Linked DNA regions of Homo sapiens: region 2 is linked to region 1. Evidence: promoter capture Hi-C in 16 types of primary human blood cells and fetal thymus (Javierre and others, 2016). All regions are on one chromosome and are shown on one strand. Each heading gives the region's core, a stretch centred on a gene start or on the middle of the fragment in contact. The rest is flanking DNA. Distances are from core to core; before and after follow the strand shown. Region 1 holds the start of BDH2 (3-hydroxybutyrate dehydrogenase 2). Region 2 overlaps PPP3CA (protein phosphatase 3 catalytic subunit alpha).

The links. Contacts are between HindIII fragments. The CHiCAGO score rates a contact against its expected background, and 5 or more counts as called.
Region 2: a contact is called between a fragment that was not itself captured here and the fragment with the promoter of BDH2 in region 1, in 1 of 17 cell types (activated CD4 T cells). The highest score is 5.6, in activated CD4 T cells.

The regions. Positions count from the first base shown.
Region 1 is chr4:103,098,143-103,101,382 of GRCh38, forward strand. It overlaps BDH2 (3-hydroxybutyrate dehydrogenase 2), which reads right to left and starts at 1,692. Exons shown (of 10, transcript NM_020139.4): 1 at 1,641-1,692. The HindIII fragment of the contact is 3,413 bases long and covers 809-3,240 here.
Region 2 is chr4:101,183,558-101,186,797 of GRCh38, forward strand. All of the region lies in intron 2 of PPP3CA (protein phosphatase 3 catalytic subunit alpha), which reads right to left. Among named protein-coding and RNA genes, the nearest start is that of MIR8066, 56 kb to the right of the region's middle. The HindIII fragment of the contact is 1,837 bases long and covers 811-2,647 here.

The DNA of each region.
Region 1 (3,240 bases), core at 442-2,941:
TGCCATTAGGAGGCTGCTAGGGTTATCTAGTGGGGGCGCTGGTGAAATAGCAGGGCTGGAGAAAATAGCAGGGATGGAGAGATAGGTGGATTGGAGAAGTGTTTCAGAGATGAGATAGGTAGGACCTGATCACCAACGTGGCTAATTTCAAAGAAATGTTATTTGCCCAGTGTTTTGCAGCTATGAATTCAAACCTAGGCCTTCTTGTTGCAGGTCCAAGGGAAGATCTCATGGCATTGTCTCATGGTACTCAAAGCCCTGCGGGCCTCTCTAAATCCCCACTGTGGCACCAGGAGCCTGTGCCTCGCAGACCGCTGACCCCAGGAAGTAATGGACAATGAGGCGCAGCTGCTGCTGCCTCTCTGGGTTTGTGCTGAGGCCACCTTCTCGGGGCCGTTACAAGCCAGTGCCTGAGCATGCATGCTTACTAAGGCAGACTCATTTCTGGGAGACATAGACCTCCTCCCCAACGGATGACTGGCTAGAGAAGCTCCTTATTACCTTGCTGAAGTTCTCTTAGACTGCACAGCTGTCTGGGATGCTTCCACTCAACCTGGTTTCCTTCTTTTCCTCCCTCGCGGGTGGACTTGCATCGAGGTCTGATGGCTCTCACAGCCTTACCTAGTTCTCTCCTCATTCTCTCTCACAACAGCATTTCCCCTAATAAAATCCATGCATATTTAATTCTATCTTGGAGTCTGCTTCTTGGAGGAGCAGACTAACACAATTATGTAAGAACTGGCTCCAGGGATCAGCTTATAATCACTGACTTCCTCTGAGTTTGTCCACATTTTTTAGGCGATGGGGAAGCTTGGCTTTAACAGTGCCTGACCTACTTTGATGCAATGAATTTTTGCTTTTTTACTTCTTACACAAAAGATAAACATGGAATGTTTATCATTTCAACATGGAATGACAGTTTCTAAAGTATAACTTTAGAAAGATATACTTTATCCTCCTTGAATCCTAAGCATGGTGCACAAAAGCTATTTTACAACACTGTCATTAGTGATATTGGGTGTATGGCCCTGTAAAGCCTCCAGTCAAAGGTTTTGCTAGGAATCTTTGCCAACCGAAGAAGCACTTCCAGAACAAATGCCGAAGCACAGAGCAGCCTTTCTATGCACTCTGAAAACCTCCTCTTAGCTGGCCTTCCTGTCTTTCTGGGACCAGATTTTGGGGTCAAAGCCTTAACATTTGATAAACTGTAATCTCAAACTAAAACAGATTTCTTTGAGAAAATGAGAGCAAACACGGCCTGAAATGGTAAAACAAGGCACCTCTCAATATATCCAATGTGAAAACCATACATGTTGGCTTCCTTAGTCCAAAAGTTAGAATCAAAATGTTGATTTTTGATTAGCAGAGACACAAACAGCATATTCAGGAAGCCATTGTTTTCAAGAGCCAGGAAGAAAACTCTTCACTTAGGATACCGTAAGAATCCTTTTTTCTTGGGCTACTTTATAAAACATACATACCACAGAGTTTCAGGCTCTTTAAAAACCCATCTTTACACTGATCTAACTGCTCAGATTAATTTTGAAACAGGCAACGTGCAGAAAAAAACAACATCTAAAAATTAAACCTCCCCTCTTTCCGTTCTAAAGTTTCATTTCAAAAGTATTAGGAAATCTTACTTTAAGCAGCGAGCTGATGGCGTTCTCCAGAACTCGGTTTGAGCAACAAACTTGAGACAACCTTTGTCTGGAAGCAAGTCAAGCGCTTAATAATGCATGCTGGGATTTGTAGTTTCCCTGCTTTCAGAGTTTAGTGGCTCCATCCATACACTTTATAAATGTATGTGCTGCCATCTAGTGGAATTCAGGTAGAACTATGAATTCCAAGTGGAAGGTGAAAAGTGGAAAAGCACCTTAGAGCTTACTTAGGATGCGGAAATCATTTCCTTCACTTCAGTCTCTCCACTTCTCTGTTTTGTTTATGCCTACTATATGCGGTGCCAGGGTAGACGAGATTGGCTGAGCTGGAAACTGCGTGTGGAAGATAGCAGAGCAACAAAATAGAGGGAACCCAGGTCACTGAAAATTCTGGAGCCTTCCTGTCACTTGGCCTGGATTGTTTTAAGGGAGAGAAATAAAAAAAAAAATCCTTTTTGTTTGAGATACAGTTGTGATTTTTATTTTTTCATGCTCAGAATATTCTAACACTAATGCACATTTAGTGGCAGAATGCCAGGAGCCTTTTACTACACTGGGAATGGGGTTGGGGAGAACGTGAAACTTGGATGACAGGGTGGAGGCTTAAAAGGGAACATGTTAACAGCGAAAAACCCCAGTTTGGCTGAAGAGAACAGAGATATAAGGTCAAAAAGAAAGGACTAGATCTCATGAGCCCTCTAGGTTAGGATAGCAACATGTGCTTTATCTGTAGTGCCAGTGAGCAGAGTGATTGTGTAGGCTACTTGTACATGTACTGTATAAATTGGTTTCCTCAGCACCCATCCAACTCACTTTCCCCTTTTTTCACTTGTCAAAGCTGGAAAACAAAAGTCTCTACTTCATAGCCTTGTTTGCTGCTAGGGGTGGCCAAGCAGCATAGATGTTGCCAATGAAATGCAGGTGGGAATTTCTGAGGAGGGCCTCCTTCTTAAATAGAAAAGTAAGCCCTTCTGAAAGGCTTTTAGCTTTTGCTCCTCCCTTTCTTTTTGCCTGGAATGAAGATAGGATGCCGTGGGACAGAGCAGCCATTTAGTGAGTTCATCTGAGGCCAGAGGCACACATTAACGACAGGGACCAGCAAGAGAAGGAGCCTGCGGCCCTGATGACAGCCTCAAGGCAACAACTCCTCTGGACTTCTTATGTGAGGACAATAAACTTTAGTGTTTTTCACGTTTTTTGTTACATGGAGCTAAGTGATTTCTAACAGTCACAGGGGATAAGAACAAAGACTGTGGCGTCAGTAAGACTAGAGCAAGTCCCATATCTCTCTCTCACTAGCTAAGTGAGTAAATCACTTAAATCTCTGAACCTCTTATGTTTCTCATCTGTAAAATGAAGGTAAAATAGCACCTACCTCAGGGATGTGGTGAGGAGGAACGACTAAGCCTGTGAATCCATCAGCACAATGTTTGCCACACAGGTGCTTAATACATGTTAGTGATTCTTATGATGAAGACATTGTTGGAGAAATTTAATTATAATGGATGGTAAAAGTTGCGCTTTTTAATGTTCTTTTAAAAACTGGACTTAGTTTCTGCATGTGTCTATATGAGGTCTATGG
Region 2 (3,240 bases), core at 479-2,978, 1.9 Mb before region 1:
ACTATCAAAATCCTTTGCCCTGTTTAACTCTATTTGATATCTCAAAATCAAAAATATTTGTGATTAAAAATATATGAAAGCAATTTTAGAAAAAAATTTTGATTCTCAAAGTTACATGCTATAAAATGGGCACTGTGTCACCATTATGAACAATGCATCTCATCCCTTTTCTTGATCCAAGTTTTTTTATTTGATGTTGTGTGAAAGACAGACTGGAAGCTGTTGACTTTCTCTATCAAGGCTATTGCACTGCTTTGCTTTTCCACATTCTTGCTTCAATAACTCATCGCTCAACCCTACCTGATTCATCATAAATTATGATACACTTACCCTATGAACCTTGTGCCACACTGCTTTGAGAATCACTACTATGAGGAATGGCTAGTTACAGAGGCTTTCTAACTGTAAGTAGCAAATAGTGCATACATTCTACAGGCCCAAGCTCACAATTATGGGAAGACAAAAGTAGCTAGGTCAGAAAAAAGAGAAGTGACTCCCATAGACTTCCACTGGTCTGTAATTTTATGTCCTTTGACTCAACAGGGAAATGGATCAAAGACACAGAGCTAACACCACAGGATCAACTGAAAGAGAAAGAAATAGGTAGAGAATGGAACCTGACTATGCTCGTTAGTTGTGATACAGGCAGTTAAAGCCACAGAAGAATCTAACAAGGTGATGCTTGTAAGTTGAAGGAAGAAACTATCCAGGTCCTGAGATGGTATACTGTGCTGATTGAGAGCTTGAGGCCCAGAATCAGTTCCCTGCACTTGATTCCTGCGGCTGCATTTACTAAGGCTCTTATTGCCAAGCTTCAGCTTCTTTATCTATAACTGTGCTAATATGGTAGCTACTAGCCACAAGTGGCAATTGAGCACATGAAATATAGTCAGACTGAAATGTGTCTTAAGTATAAAATAAACATCAGAAGTAAAAGACTTAGTAAAAAAAAGAGGGCAAAATATGTTATTAACAATTTTATATTGATTACATGTTGAAATGAAAATATTTTGGAAAGCTGAAGTTATGAAATACATTATTAAAAATAATTTCACCTGTTTCTTTTAAAATTTGTAAGTGTCTCTTAGAAAATTTAAAATTATACATGTAGCTCACACTATGTATCTACTAGACAGATTTCCTTCTCTAACTTTGGGAATAGCAACAGTACCTACACCTCACAAGATTGCTCAACAGAGCATATAAAACCTTTAGTATATTGTTAGGCATGTAGTAAAGGTCCAAAGAATGCTAATTACCATTCTTTAGCACTTGGAGTTAGAAGGGAAGGGCTAAACTAGGTGCTTTATTCCAGGGTGAGGCAAGGGCTTATGGCTGCACACTGCCGCATCAAGCAGGAATCAGTCACTGGGGGAGCTGCGGCAGTCCCACAGAAATGCAAGAAGGAGCAGGAGGCAAAAAATTGCAAGCTATATGCCTTAGTTAAGCCAAAAGGGAGGTCCAAAATGTCTTTTTAAATGGTAGTCAAATGCCATCATGAAATTTTACTTGGTCCTATGCTAAAGTCAGTTGTTTAAATTGTCTCCTTAGATAGCCCAAATATATAAAATAATTCAGCACTTGCATGCCAAAATTCTTCTAACTAGGAAAAAAAAAAAGTAAAATTTCAGACAAGATTTGCGAGGTAATAATATTTTGTTATTTTTATGTGTTATACAATAAATACTATTTGATGAGAATTTTGAAGAAAGAGGTGGAAGGAAGAAGAAGAAAATAATTCTGGGGTTCATCCTTCACTGGAGGACCAACAGGAACTGAGGTCTTATGTAAATTATCTGAATTTCATTGAGGGGCATTAGAAGGATTTCAAGATTGTTTTAAAATGATTCCAATATCTCTAACACAGTACTTGAAAGCAACTTCTAAAGCTAAACTTTTGAAACATGGTCATGTGGGGGAAGACAAAAGAAAATAAAAACTATGTATTCACTTTAAAAATATTAACTAGCTCTTCAAACATTCTAATTTTTACTTCACCTCACTAACTTCACTACCTGTAGCATGCCTTCTTTACAGGTTGCATGATGTTGAGGGAATAATTTGATGCTTATAAACATGGGTGTCAATTAGAAACCTGTTTCAAAGCATTAGTGGAGAATATTAGGAGAAATTCCTATTCAAGAGTATTTTAATCAATGGTTTATGGCCACCTTCCCTGCCTCATAAGACACTGGGCTCTGGAACCAGACTGCCTGGCCTTGAGTAATATTTTAATGGAAGGGTCATGGCCTTAGAACCAAGAACTCCAGGCTGTGGACAGCCTAAGTCTATGACCCTGGGCAAGCTCTGTAAGCCTTTCTATGTCTCAATCTTCTCATCTATTACATGGATATCCAAAGAACACCTATCTCCCAGAGTTACTGCTGAGTTCATTCATTGCTTAAAACAGAAGCTGAAATATTAGCTCCTATCTAAAAATGGTTTAAGTTTCTTTATAGTGTACAAAAGAATAAAGGCGTATTTGAGGCCAATCAATATTATATTGTTTTGACGCATGATCCTTTAACTTACAATTTCTTCATTTCCCCAACTGAAATGATATTTGCCTAGTGTTTTCTTATTAGCATGTTGAAACATACTAAGAAATTGTTATAAAGACAGCCTGAGCTTTCTAGAAACCCTAGAAAGCTTTGACAAAGAGGTATAGAACGAAATACCCCCAAATAGTTTAGGGTTGCCAATGAGAGGGAGAAAAACTCACTGAAAATCCCTGCAACATTTTTCTGATTTAAATGTCAGAAAGCAATCTAAAGTTGCATATTATTTGGGAAATGTAAAATCCAAATAATGTACACTTTGTTGGTAGTTCCATGAACTGTTAAAAAGTCAATTACCCAAACATGAAATGAAAATGTATTTACATCCAAATGATTCTCAATCATCAAATATAAAGAAATTATTACTTTGACATGGGACTCTTTAGCAAAGCCCACCCTTGCATATATTTGGCTATTTACTTCTAGTTTTCTAATATATAATAGCTCATATTTCCCATTTTTTATTTTTCATTTTCTTCTTTCTAATTGATATACTGATAGCGCAAAATATGTTCATGAAAACAAAATTTATTTTCTTTCGAATTAAAACTCATTTGGAATTTAGAAAAGGTAAGTAGGGGACAGCTGTGGTTAGGAGGAACTATCTGCACACTCTGTCACAGCACAGCCCTCTCAGTCTTTACTTACATCCACAAAAGGGGAACTGCAAGCTATATTATCC